Regions from separate parts of the Homo sapiens genome. Here all the other regions are linked to region 3. The links are contacts of gene promoters, found by promoter capture Hi-C in human tissues and cell types (Jung and others, 2019). All regions are on one chromosome and are shown on one strand. Each heading gives the region's core, a stretch centred on a gene start or on the middle of the fragment in contact. The rest is flanking DNA. Distances are from core to core; before and after follow the strand shown. Region 1 overlaps TMEM248 (transmembrane protein 248). Region 2 overlaps ZNF92 (zinc finger protein 92). Region 3 holds the start of CRCP (CGRP receptor component). Region 4 has its middle 16 kb from the start of RABGEF1. Region 5 overlaps KCTD7 (potassium channel tetramerization domain containing 7).

Region 1 (2,700 bases), core at 110-2,609, 830 kb after region 3:
ATCTTCTATTGCTATTAGTTTACATATTTTTTAATGGCCATTGTTAGTCTGGCACTGTGCTAAGCTGCTGGGAAGAACTAGAAAATGACTAAGATGGCTGGGTGCAGTAGCTCATGCATGTAATCCCAGCACTTTGGGAGGCCGAGGTGGGTGGATTGCCTGAGCTCGGGAGTTTGAGACCAGCGTGGGCAACATGGTGAAACCCCATCACTACTAAAATACAAAAAATTGGCCGGGCGCGGTGGCTCACGCCTGTAATCCGAGCACTTTGGGAGGCCAAGGTGGGCAGATCACAAGGTCAAGAGTTTGAGACCAGCCTGGCCAATATGGCAAAACCCCGTCTCTACTAAAAATACAAAAATTAGCCGGGCGTGGTGGCAGGCACCTGTAGTCCCAGCTACTCGGGTGGCTGAGGCAGGAGAATAGCTTGAACCCAGGAGGCAGAGGTTGCAGTGAGCTGAGATTCATGCCACTGTGCTCCAGCCTGGGCGACAGAGGGAGACTCTCTCTCCAAAAAAAAAAAAAAAGAAGTCAGCTGGGCATGCAGGCATGGTGGTGCGCACTTGTAGTCCCAGCTACTCAGGAGGCTGAGGCAGGAGAATTGTTTGAACCCAAGACGTGGAGGTTGCGGTGAGCCGAGATTGCACCACTGCACTCCAGCCTGGGCGACAGAGCGAGACTCCATCTCAAAAAAAGAAAAGAAAAGACAATGCCTAAGATGGGCCCGTGCGCAGTGGCTCACGCCTGTAATCCCAGCACTTTGGGAGGCCGAGGTGGGTGGATCACTTGAGGTCAGGAGTTCAAGACCAGTCTGGCCAACATGGTGAAACCCCATCTCTACTAAAAATGCAAAAAAATTAGCCAGGCGTGGTGGCAGGCGCCCGTGATCCCAGCCACTCTGGAGGCTGAGGTGGGAGAATCACTTGAACCCTGGAGGCGGAGGCTGCAGTGAGCCAAGATCATGCCACTGCACTCCAGTCTAGGCAACAGAGTGAGACTTCACCTCAAAAAAAAAAAAGGCCTAACATTTGGTCTCTTCCTTTTGGAATTTTGGGGTTATGGAAGAGACAAAGATAAACGTGAGTTAATGTTTATCAAGCACTTACAATAGTTCCTGCCACAAAGGAAATGCTACGTAAGTGCTTGATAAGGGATATGAAAAAATACATACTTATAAAATGTGGAGCACTGCCCTTTGACCAGTACTAAACCCATGACAGACTGTAAGTGTTGCAGGAGAAGGGCTAGAAGGCAGTGGAAGCTGGAATAATCAGGAAAGGCTTCATATGGGACACCTGGGCCTTGGAAGAATAACCTTTTGTTCTTTGGTTACCAAAAGGCTTTTTAAAAATTGCTTAGGCTAGATGCAGTGGCTCATGCCTGTAATCCCAGCACATTGAGAGGCTGAGGCAGGAAGATTGCTTGAGCTCAGGTGTTGAAGCCCAGCCTGGGCACATAGCAAACACCTGTCTTTATGAAAAAATTAAAAAAATTAACCAGGTGTTGTGGCGTGCACCTGTAGTCCCAGCTACTTGTGAGGCTGAGGTGGGAGGATTGCTTGAACCTGGGAGGTCGAGGCTACAGTGAGCTAAGATTGTACCACTGTACTCCAGCCTGGGCAATAGAGTGAGACCCTGTCTCAAAAAAAAAAAAAAAAAAAAACAAGAAACAAATAAAAAGTCCTTCAAGGAATTTAAGTGCCCACCAGCCTCCTATTGGCTGTTAGAGGTGAGAATATTCCCATAATAATCAAGGTATGGGTGACTTCTGGGTTTTCCATGTAGCAAGTGGACCTGTTGCTTATGGCATGGCATAAGGACACCTTCGGGATTTTTTGTTGTTATTTTGAGATGGAGTCTCACTCTGTCGCCCAGGTTGGAGTGCAGTGGCACAATCTTGGCTCACTGCAACCTCTGTCTCCCGGGTTCAAGCGACTGTTCTGCCTCAGACTCCCGCGTAGCTGGGATTATAGGTTCGTGACACCATGCCCAGCTAATTTTGTATTTTTAGTGGAGACAGGATTTTACCATGTTGGCCAGGCTGGTCTTGAACTTCTGACTTCAAATGATCCGCCCGCCTCAGCCTCCCAAAGTGCTGGGATTACAGGCATGAGCCACCACGCTTGGCTATTTTTTAATTTTAATTTTATTTTAATATTTTAATTTTTTATTTTAATTTAATTTTTATTTAAAATTTTATTTTAATTTTGAGACTGGGTCTTGATCTGTCGCCAGGCTAGAGTGCAGTGGTGTGATCATAGCTCACTGCAGCCTCAAACTCCTGGGCTCAAGTGATCCTCCCTAGTACCTGGGACCACAGGTGTGCACCAGTACACCTGGCTGATTTTTAAAACTTTTTTGTAGAGACAGAATCTTGCTGTCATGTTCAGGCTGGTCGTGAATTCCCGGCCTCAAGCAATCCTCCTGCCTCAGCCTTCTAAAGTCAAAGTGCTGGGACTACAGATGTGAACCACTGTGCCTGGCAATACGTTGGTTTTAGTTTAAGCTTCATCACTTGCCTTTCTTAACTCTGAAACCCTCTGACCTCTGTTTGTTCATATGTAAAAGGGGAACAGCTGCACTTCTTCAGTCATGTTCATGGGAGAGTAGTAAATTTTAAGTGAAATAATACATATAAAAGATGTTTGAAAATGGCTAGACAGCTGTGCAGAAATGCTGGGGATAATTCACCCAGCCCGAG
Region 2 (2,700 bases), core at 138-2,637, 730 kb before region 3:
CCAAGTAGCTGGGACTACAGCGTGCACGACCACGCCTGGCTAATTTTTCTTTTTGTATTTTTTGTACAGACAGAGTTTTGCCATGTTTCCCAGGCTGGTCGCCAACTCCTGAGCTCACGCAATCCACCTGCCTCACCCTGCCAAAGTGCTGGGATTACAGGCGTGAACCACTATGCTCAACCACAATGTATTTTCTTTATCTAGCCTACCATTGAGGGTATTTAGGTTAATTCCATGTCTTTGGTACTGTCACTAGTGCTGCAATGAAGATGCATGTGCATGGGTCTTTATGATAGAATAATTTGTATTCTTTGGGTATATACCTAATTAGGAGGTGGGTCAAATGGTAATTCTGTTTTTAGTTTTGTGAGGAATTGTCACACTGCTTTTCACAATGGTTGAACTAATTTACACTCCCACCAGCAGAGTATAAGCATTCTCTTTACCCTGCAACTTTGCCAGCACATCTATTATTTTTTTGACTTTTTTGGTAATTGCCATTCTTACTGGTGTGAGATGGTATCTCATTGTGGTGTTTTTTTTGTTTGTTTGTTTGCATCTCTCTAATGATTAGTGATGAGCACTTTTTTAATATGCTTGTTAGCCACATGTATGCTTTCTCTTTTTTTTCTTTTCTTTTTGGAGATGGAGTCTCGCTCTGTTATCCAGGCTGGAGTGCAGTGGCACGATCTCGGCTCACTGCAACCTCCATCTCCTGGGTTCAAGCAATTCTCCCTCAGCCTCCCAAGTAGCTGGGATTACAGGCACGCCCCACCATGCCTGACTAATTTTTGTATTTTTTTTAGTAGAGACGGGGGTTTCACCATATTGGCCAGGCTGGTCTCGAACTCTTGACCTTGTGATCCACCCACCTTGGCCTCCCAGAGTGCTAGGATTACAGGTGTGAGGCACCACACCCACCTGCTTTCTCTTGAAAAGCGTGTGTTTATGTCCTTTGCCTACTTTTTAATAAGGTTTTTTTTTTCTTGTAAACTTGCTTAAGTTCCTTATGGATTCTGGATATTAGACCTTTGTCAGAAGCATAGTTTGCAAATATTTTTCTTTATTCTCTAGGTTGTCTGTTTACTCTGTTGATAGTTTCTTGTGGGTTTTGTTTTTGTTTTCTGTGAAGATGCTCTTTAGTTTAATTTGGTCCCATTTATCGATTTTTGCTTTTGTGGCGATTGCTTTTGGTATCTTCATCATAATATCGTTGGCAGTTTCTATGTCTGGAATTGTATTTCCTAGGTTATCTTCCAGGGCATTTTATAATTTTAAGTTTTACATTTAAGTCCTTAATTTATCTTGTGTTTATTTTTGGATATAGTGTAAGCAGGGAGTCCAGTTTTAATCTTTTACATAGTGCTAGCTATTTATTACAACACCATTTATTAAACAGGGAATCTCTCCTACATTTCTCTTGTCAGCTTTGTCAAAAATACGATGATTGTAGGTGTGCCACATTATTTCTGGGCTCTCTATTCTGTTGCATTGGTCTCTGAGCCTGTTTTTGTACTGGTATCATGTTGCTGTGGTAGTGCTCAGAGTAGAGAGCTATTGCTTTAAAATGCAAATAGCCAAAAAGAGAGCACTATATTCAACCATTTCTATAGGAGAGTGAGAGCCTACCTTCAGCAGGCACCTGGCTTCAAATTGCAAAACTACCTCCTGTCACGAAGATGTGAAAAGTTTATTTTGTCATTGAATATAGCCAATTAGCTTACACGGATGGCCTCCCCAGTTGCCAGGTGAATTTAGGATGAACTATGTATAACATGGTACTGTAAATTCTTCTACTTATGGACTAATTATTGTGACCGTCTTTCTGTCTTTGCAGTCTCTTAAGCAGATTGTGATGCGTGTCACATTCTGGTGTAATTGTGTAATAAAACAGTTTTCTTTCTGTTTTATCATTGTGGAGTTACTCTGGGGCTGGAGAAAACTTTCCTTTTAATTATATTTTCCAAACACTGTTTAAACTTACCACACATGATATAAACATATAAGGTGCCAACCAAGCTTTAATCTAGATGGGCCTTTTTGTCTCAGGCTTCCAGTCAACTCATGATTGTGCTGCAAAATGCATGCTGTCCCCTGAATATGCAGGCAGAATCGTGCCTCTGCCTATTTGGTATCTAGTCCTGTATAATCACATCTAGAGAGGCTAGACCAAATTTCTAAATACTTCACAGAACAGCAATTAACCATTTTACCTCTTTCAATGACTCTTGTATCTTTAGACCTGAAACTGATTCAGAGACTGTGGGGCCCGTTAGAGTAACATGCATGCATTGAGTAGACATGTAGGCATGAGAATCTCCACTTTCCCCTTCCTTCTCTTTTTAAAATGCCCACAAATGTGCAGGTAACACTTACTGCTATTCTACCCATCCAGGACCTAAACTAGCGGCTCCACATTCTGAATCTGGGTCTTGCAGTAAACCTTTTATCTGAGAAATGCAAATCCTTTTAGTTATAAGGCTCAAAGAGACATTAAAACGAGACCACAATTGTGTCTTTCTCTCTCCTTTGAGCTATGTATTTATCTCTTGAAACTGCTTGCTATTGCCACGAGTAGCTATAAATTAAACTAATAATGCTACGCTGAACACTATAACCCACACCCTATACAGCTTAGAAATGTATGTCAATCAGTAATCAAGGTTGTTTTTAGTAAATAAGTAAGATTTCCTGACAATT
Region 3 (2,700 bases), core at 193-2,692:
ACTCTTTGGACAATAAAGAATTTTATTTTAGAAAATTAGCCAGGTGGCTGGGTGCAGTGGCTCACGCCTGTAATCCCAACACTTTGGGAGGCTGATGAGGGTGGATCACAAGGTCAGGAGTTCAAGACCAGCTTGGCCAAGATGGTGAAACCCCGTCTCTACTAAAAAAATACAAAAATTAGCTGGGCATTATGGCGGGCACCTGTAATCCTAGCTACTGGGGAGGCTGAGGCAGGGAACTGCTTGAATCCAGGAGGCAGAGGTTGCAATGAGCCGAGATCACGACACTGCACTCCAGCCTGGGCAACAGAGTGAGACTGATCTCAAAAAAAAAAAAAAAGAAAAAGAAAAAGAAAAAAAGAAAATTAGCCAGGTGTAGCGGAGCGCACCTGTGGTCCCAGCTACTCTGGCAGGCTGGGGTGGGAGGATTGCTTGAGCCCAGGAGTTCAAGGCTGCAGTGAGCTCTGATTGCACCACTGCATTCCAGCCTGGGCGACAGAGCAAGACCCTGTCTCTTAAAAAATAAATAAATAAACTGCAATGTTTCTGGCAGCCCAGATGCCACCAGCCTCACTACTCTCTGAGAGGTGGGATTTTAACATGCAAAGGCCCACTAACCCGATCACGTCTCACAACTTCAGCTGATTAATACTTTGTTAAAACCTAGACCACGAAAACAGACAGAGCCCGGCGAGGTGGCTCACGCCTGTAATCCCAACACTTTGGGAGGCCGAAGCGGGTGGATCACGAGGTCAGGAGTTCAAGACTAGCCTGGCCAAGATGATGAAACCCCGTCTCTACTAAAAAATACACAAATTAGCTAGGCGTTATGGCGGGCGCCTGTAATCCCAGCTACTCGGGAGGCTGAGGCAGGGAATTGCTTGAACCTGGGAGGCAGAGATTGCAGTGAGCCGAGATCGTGCCACTGCACTCCAGCCTGGGTGACAGAGCGAGACTCTGTCTCAAAAAAGAAAAAAAGAGGCTGGGCACGGTGCCTCACGCCTGTAATCCCAGGACTTTGGGAGGCCGAGGCGGGCGGATCACGAGGTCAGGAGATTGAAACCATCCTGGCTAACACGGTGAAACCCCGTCTCTACTAAAAACACAAAAAATTAGCCGGGCTTGGTGGCAAGCGCCTGTAGTCCCAGCTACTTGGGAGGCTGAGGCAGAAGGAGAATCGCTTGAACCCAGGAGGCGGAGGTTGCAGTAAGCCGAGATCCAGCCTGGGCGACAGAGCGAGACTCCGTCTCAAAAAAAAAAAAAGGTTAAAGAAAAAAAGAAAAGAAAACACAAGATAATCCTGTCCGCAAACGCTTAGCAGTCTTAAATCGGCCTGGTGGAAGGATGCAGGGACACTCCCCCACCCTGCCCCCCGAAAAAGGGGAACGCGCAGCGCGAGGTTCCGGGTCCGCCAAGCTCCCGGCATGCAGCGCGGCGATCCCGGCGAGCACCTTGGCGCGCGGAGCTGGCACCTTGGCGCTGTTGGTGGCGGCGGAGACAGCTGTGAAGTGTGAGGTTCTTTGTCTGCTGGCAGCTAGGGGCGACGAGGCGGGACGTCATGGAAGTGTAAGTCTTCTCGGGCGCGTCCCTTTTCGCCCGAGGAGCCCAACGGTTTGACCGCTGAGAGCTGAGAGCCGAGAGCCGTGGGGACTGGGCGACCCTCGTACGGGAGTGAGGGCAGCGGGCCGGCCCTGTCCGGGAGGGCCGCGGGGTGGTGACGGGGACGAACGGGACTCTCGCTTTGCCCTTCCGAACCTTCGCTTCCCCTCCACGCCGTGTCTGGTGCGGGGCCGAGCACTTCCGTGTCCGGCTGCCTTTCAATGTGCCCCCTCCTTCTCTCATTCGTTTACCAGCGTTTCTGGGTCACAGTGCGGGGGTGGAGCCCAGTCTGGTATCCGACCCCGGACTTAGAAGGCTATAAAGGCCTGAGTCTGTCCGCCCTGAAAGTAGGTGGAGGAGAGACGAATCAGGGCCGGGTAGAGCTCTGCTTGCAGCTGTAGGCCCCTGGAGAGCCCTCGGAAGAGCTGCCCTCGGAATTTGATGGGAGCAGTAAACACTGTGAGGGAAGGGGCTGGTTTTGGGGTGGAGAAGGGAAGGACGTGAACCAGGACTGGGACCAGAGAAACAGCAGGGGGTGTGTGGGTGTGTGTGCAAGGCGAGGGTAAAAGATTTTCTGACAGTTTAACTCCACGTGGTCTTTTCCATGCTTGCTCGTTGCGCCTGGTGCAAATGGAAGATTTTGCATCTACTCTGAATGTGGGCTTTATACGGTTGATATTAATTTGTAGGTATTACTATCTTGTGTTCTCTTTGAACTGATTATTTGATACAGTTTCCTTTATGTTCTTTTGCCTCATGTTTAATGGTTATATGTACTATGGCATTTCACATTTTTACATTTTTAATTAATTGTTTTTTCTTAAGAAACAGGGTCTTGCTCTGTCCCCCAGGCGGGGTGTAATCATGGTTCACTGCAGCCTCACTTTCTGGACTCAAGCAATCCTGCTTCAGCCTCTTCAGTAGCTGGGACTACAGGCCCACGCCATCACTCACCGCTAATTTTTTAAAAAAAGTTTTGTAGATGCAGGGTCTCACTACAGCCCAGGCTGGTCTCCAGCTCCTGAGCTCAAGTGATCCTCCTGCTTTGTACTCCCAAAGTCCTGGGATTGCAGGCGTGAGCCACTTCACCTGGCCTCTTCC
Region 4 (2,700 bases), core at 142-2,641, 610 kb after region 3:
TGTTTTTGTTTTTTTTTGAGACGGAGTCTCACTCTTGTTGCCCAGGCTTGAGTGTAGTGGTGTGATCTTGGCTCACCACAACCTCTGCCTCCTGGGTTCAAGTGATTCTCCTGCCTCAGCCTCCTGAGTAGCTGGGATTACAGGGCTGTGACACCACGCCTGGCCACTTTTGTATTTTTAGTAGTGACGGGGTTTCACCATGTTGGTCAGGCTGGTCTCGAACTCCTGACCTCAGGTGATCTGCCCACCTTAGCCTCCCAAAGTGCTGGGATTACAGGTGTGAGCCACCATGCCTGGCCAATTATCTTTTAAAGAAATGAAAATAAGAGAAAATATCTGTTACATTAATCCACATATTTGCCATTTTTAGTGCTTTTCATTGTCTTGTATTTCATGTTTATGTTTATCTTTTTCCTTTAGCCTGAAATTTTAATTTTATAAATTTTTGTGTTGCAGTTTCTGTTGGGCAATAAATTTTCTCACCATTTGTTTCTTAAGAAATTTTTTTTTTGTCTTCGTTTGAGAGAGGCTATTTTAATTGAATAAAGAATTATAGGTTAACAGCTTTTTCCCCCCAGCACTCTAAAGATGTCATGTTATTGTCCTCTAGCTTTCATTGTTTCTGATAATAAGTCAGCAGTAATTCTTATCTTTGTTCCTTCTACATAATGTGTTATTTCCTTCTCTGGCTGCTTTTAAGATTTTTCTCTTTATTTTTGGTATTCAGCAACTTGATTGTGATATGTTTTGGTGTGGTTTTCTTTGAATCAGTATTTATTTATTTTATTTTTTTTTTTTGAGACGGAGTCTCGCTCTGTCACCAGGTTGGAGTGCAGTGGCGCGATCTCGGCTCACTGCACCCACCGCTTCCCAGGTTCAAGCAATTCTCCTGCCTCAGCCTCCCGAGTAGCTGAGATTACAGGCGCATGCCACTGCGCCCAGCTAATTTTTGTATTTTTAGTAGAGACAGGGTTTCACCATGTTGGTCAGGCTGGTCTTGATCTCGTGACCTTGTGATCCACCCACCTCGGCCTCCCAAAGTGCTGGGATTATAGGCGTGAGCCACTGCACCTGGCCTGAATCAATATTTATTCTTCTTGGAGCTCTTTGAGTTTCTTGGATCTTTGGGTTCATGGTTTTCATCAAATTTATAGTTTGAAAAAAATTCAGCAATTATTTCTTCTGCCTCTGGTACTCCAATTATATGTGTGTTGGATGGATTAATATTGTCCTATAGGTCACCAAGGCTCTGTTAAAATTTTTTTTGGCTTGCTTTTTTCCCTTGGTGCTTTAGTTTAGATAGATTCAGGTTCATTGATCTTGTCTTTGTAGTGCCAAATCTGCTGTTAAGCTCATCCCATATGTTTTTTATCTTAGACATTATGTTTTCAGCTCTAGAAGTTCCATTGGTTCTCTTTTAAATCTTCTATTTCTCTCCTTATTATATTTGTTTTCCCTTTAAAATCTTGAACATATTTCTATAGCCGATTTAAAATCTTGGAAACTAATTTGATCATCTTTGTCACTTCTGGGTCTGTTTCGATTATTATTTTTTTAATTACAGGTCATATTTTCCCACTTCCTTACATGTCTGTACATCCTTTTACAGCTTTATCAAGATACACTTTACTTTACCATACAATTCACTAATTTAACATGTACACTTTAATGACCTTTAGTATATTCAGAGAATTGTACATCCATCATCATAATCAATTTTACAATATTTTCCTTATCCCTAAAAGAAGCTTCACTCCCCTTAGCCCTTGTCCCACAGTCCCTCCATTCTGCCCCACCCTCAGCCCTAGGCCACCACCCATCTACTTTTTGTCTTTATAGATTTGTCTATTCATATAACTGGAATAATGCAATCTGTGATTCTTTGTGACTTAGCATCATGTGTTCAGAGTCCATCCATGTTGTGGCATGTATCAGTTCTTGTTTCTTTTTATTGCCAATAACATTACATAGTATGGCTATAGTGAGTTTTGATGAGTTCGTGAATATTGTGATGTTATGCTGTTTTTGTTCCATCCATGGCAATTTTATGAGGCAGATATGACTCCCCCAACTTTATGGATGAGGAAAGTGCAGCTCGGATAGAAGGCCACACTGTGGGTGGAACTCCTAGGAAGCTGGTATGACAGAGAGGACATGGCCTTACCCTAAGGGGAGAAACATAGGCATGCTTTGCAAAAGGTCTGAGGGAAGACACAAGGAGCTCCCCCGAAAAGTAAGTCTGATGAGGGAGTTACACCCATGCTTTGGAAAGTCTAATCTGAGGGGGACGTGGACCCTTCCATGTGAAGACCCAATCAGAGGGGGAAGCTGTGACCCTTTCTTGGGCACTGTGACCTGAGGAGAGATGTGATCCCACTTAGAAAACCCCCATTCATCAGGCCTCCCTTGATCAGTGGAGGTCAGCAGCCATGGGCCTGGGTCCTAAGGCACCTTCAGCTCTCGGGAGGACCTGCCAGCACAGGGCACAAGGCCACATCTGTCTGCAGGAAGCTGCTACTCAGACAGGGCCAGAAGGGATGCCAGGCACAGAGCCAGAATCCCAAAGCACCCAGCCTGGGCTTTGCCCACAGCTGGGACCCAGAGCCATCAAATGACTATGAGAGTGCCTAGTCAGTGGGTGCTTATTCATATCTGCTGGGTGGTAGTGCCTCCAGTTCTGCAGTCCTCTCTTCCTGTAGC
Region 5 (2,700 bases), core at 97-2,596, 530 kb after region 3:
TCCTTCTGTATGGTGTTGGGTTTATGTACACACTATAACACTTCCTGTGTGAGTTCATGTACCTGTCTGTGAGTGCTTTGGTGTATTGAGCCTCAGTACACTCCAAGGGCATTAAAGTCAAGAACTAGAACCTGGGTGCTGTGCCTTTCTTTTTTAGAGATGTGCTCTCATCTCTTCTCTGACCCCCACTTTGCCAGCAAATATTTTTTATTTCTGCTTAAAATGTGGTGTGTTTGGGGATGCCCCACACAACAAGACAGGCTTTTCCCTGAGACCAGCAGCTGAATTTCTGCCCTGAAAGGGAGGTGGGCCTCTTGAGGACCCTTCTAGAGTTACTCTAGACTTGTCCCTGTTTCATGTAGGCATGTGCCCACCCCAGCCTAGGCAAAATCTCTGTCCTCTTCTTTTGGGAGTTCTCCAAGGAAAGAAGAGACTGCAGGTGCAGTCACGTGTGTGGCTCACAACCATGTCAGGTAGTTCTAAAATAAATTCCTCCTGTCATATTACCACTTCCTTTTCAATGGGGGAAATAAGTAGCTCTAAATTTATGTAAGCCTCAGTGGTTAAGACCCTTCCTTAAGAAAAATGGACGTAAGTTGCCCTTCCTTTGAAAGCAGAGCTTGACACCTTCCTGGCTAATGAGTGTCCTCATCAAGATGCCCCCTGGAGTCACATCATGGATTAACGCAGAAAGGTGAGTTCTGAGGCTCTGAGTAGCTTCATACCCTCCAACTGCTTCCCTTAAACCTCTGATTATTCTGGCTTTTAAACAAAAGCACTGTATCATCTGTGCCAAATGTATTCCCTGACTAATTACTGAGTACAGTCACATAGTTATAGTACACTAATAATACAGGCTGGAAACTGAAGCTCATAGAAGTATGTAGTTTCCCCAAGAGTGCAGAGCTAGTAAGTGGAAGAGTCAGGATTCAAACCCAGAGCCCCTTTCTGAAATCCTCAGAGGTGTTCAACAGCATGATCCTCCCTTCCTCTTGACAGCTCGTATCCTCCTCCTGAGGTTTAGGGCTTCACTCTACCTGACCTGTGAAGATTTGAAAGCACATATCTAGGACAAGTATTAGAAAGTCTTCATACTTCAGGAAAGGATTTTAGGAAAAAAGGAAAAAAAAAATCTCCCATAGATGTTGTATTAGTCCATTTTCACACTGCTGTAAAGAACTACCTGAGACCGGTTAATTTATAAAGAAAAGAGGTTTAATTGACCCACAGTTCACATCCCTGGGAGGCCTCAGGAAACTTATAATCATGGCAGAAGGCGAAGTTCAGAAGCAAGGCACATCTTATATGGAGGCAGGAGAGAGAGAGAATGGGGAGGCCAGGCATGGTGGCTCATGCCTGTATAATCCCAGCACTTTGGGAGGCCGAGGCAGGCAGATCACGAGGTCAAGAGATTGAGACCATCCTGGCCAACATGGTGAAACCCCATCTCTATTAAAAAACAAAATACAAAAAAATTAGCTGGGCATGGTGGCGTGCACCTGTAGTCCCAGCTACTCGGGAGGCTGAGGCAGGAGAATCACTTGAACTCAGGAGGCAGAGGTTGCAATAAGCCGAGATCATGCCACTGCACTCCAGCCTGGAAACAGAGTGAGACTCCATCCCACAAAAATAAAAAAAGAGTGGGGAAATGCTACACTTTTAAACCATCAGAGCTCGTGAAAACTCACTATCACAAGAACAGCATAGGGGAAATCTACCTCCATGATCCAATCACCTCCCTCCAGGTCCCTCCCCTGACAAGTGGGGATTACAGTTCAACATGAGATTTGGGTGGGGACACAGAGCCAAACCATATCAAATGTGTAGTCCTTATGTAGCCCCTGTGTTAAGGGGGTAGATGGGGCTCCCGATTTACTGACCTTCTTAGTGAGGGACACATATCCGCTAGGTGAAGGAGGCCCTGTTCACAGGATGATGTATGGAGTATGACAGAGTAGGTGAGTCATGGCTCCTTGGCTAGACCCCAAGGGTGGGATGATCTGGAACCACCTGAGTTAATGACACTCCTGAAGCCTTGCAGGTATCCCTGCATAGACAAGCTGGATAGCCTACTTCCAACATCAAAAGCATAACAGAATGGGAGACTCCTTAGTGTAGTTCAGGGGATGCCATGTGCCTGGCTTGGGACTCATGGCCCTTGGACTTAGATCTCTATACTGCCAAGTGTCCCGTCTTCATTCTTGTGTAGATGACCTCTTCACTACTTAATTTTGGTTTGTTGAACTTATAGCCTGTTCCCTTAGCTTTTATTTACTTACCTTTAGCTTTCTTTTAATTCCTTACCACATTGTTTTTCCTATCATGTACTTTAGCTTAATTTCTCTGTTTTTTAAACATAATTTTAAACTTTCTTTCTTTCTTTCTTTTTTTTTTTTTTGAGACAGTCTTGCTCTGTTGCCCAGGCTGCAGTGTAGTGGTGCAATCTCAGCTCACTACATCCTCCACCAGCTGGGTTCAAGCAATCCTCCTTCGTCAGCCTCCCAAGTAGCTGGGATTACAGACGCGCCACCAAGCCTGGCTAATTTTTGTATTTTTAGTAGAGATGGGGTTTCACCATATTGGCCAGACTGGTCTCAAACTCCTGACCTCAGGTGATGTACCCGCCTTGGCCTCCCAAAGTGCTGGGAGTACAGGCATGAGCCACCACCACACCGAGCCTAGTAGTTTTTGTTTTGAGAA

What was found. The method cuts DNA at HindIII sites, captures the fragments that hold promoters and counts their contacts. A contact is called where the count stands out against the background at its distance.
Region 1: a contact is called between a fragment that was not itself captured here and the fragment with the promoter of CRCP in region 3, in 1 of the 25 tissues and cell types used here (spleen).
Region 2: a fragment that was not itself captured here is called in contact with the fragment with the promoter of CRCP in region 3 in 1 of the 25 tissues and cell types used here (spleen).
Region 4: a fragment that was not itself captured here is called in contact with the fragment with the promoter of CRCP in region 3 in 1 of the 25 tissues and cell types used here (dorsolateral prefrontal cortex).
Region 5: a contact is called between a fragment that was not itself captured here and the fragment with the promoter of CRCP in region 3, in 1 of the 25 tissues and cell types used here (mesenchymal stem cells).

Annotation. Positions count from the first base shown.
Region 1 is chr7:66,945,574-66,948,273 of GRCh38, forward strand. All of the region lies in intron 3 of TMEM248 (transmembrane protein 248), which reads left to right. Among named protein-coding and RNA genes, the nearest start is that of TMEM248, 26 kb to the left of the region's middle. The HindIII fragment of the contact is 3,961 bases long and covers 1-2,700 here.
Region 2 is chr7:65,380,390-65,383,089 of GRCh38, forward strand. All of the region lies in intron 1 of ZNF92 (zinc finger protein 92), which reads left to right. Among named protein-coding and RNA genes, the nearest start is that of ZNF92, 7.9 kb to the left of the region's middle. The HindIII fragment of the contact is 3,903 bases long and covers 1-2,700 here.
Region 3 is chr7:66,113,405-66,116,104 of GRCh38, forward strand. It overlaps CRCP (CGRP receptor component), which reads left to right and starts at 1,443. Exons shown (of 6, transcript NM_014478.5): 1 at 1,443-1,566. The coding sequence starts at 1,559. RefSeq lists silencers at 319-509, 1,938-2,232 and enhancers at 1,156-1,285, 1,823-2,351. The HindIII fragment of the contact is 12,363 bases long and covers 1-2,700 here.
Region 4 is chr7:66,723,581-66,726,280 of GRCh38, forward strand. It overlaps a transcript of RABGEF1 not described here. Among named protein-coding and RNA genes, the nearest start is that of RABGEF1, 16 kb to the right of the region's middle. The HindIII fragment of the contact is 3,653 bases long and covers 1-2,700 here.
Region 5 is chr7:66,642,918-66,645,617 of GRCh38, forward strand. KCTD7 (potassium channel tetramerization domain containing 7) reads left to right here. Exons shown (of 4, transcript NM_153033.5): 4 at 1-130. Among named protein-coding and RNA genes, the nearest start is that of KCTD7, 15 kb to the left of the region's middle. The HindIII fragment of the contact is 3,952 bases long and covers 1-2,700 here.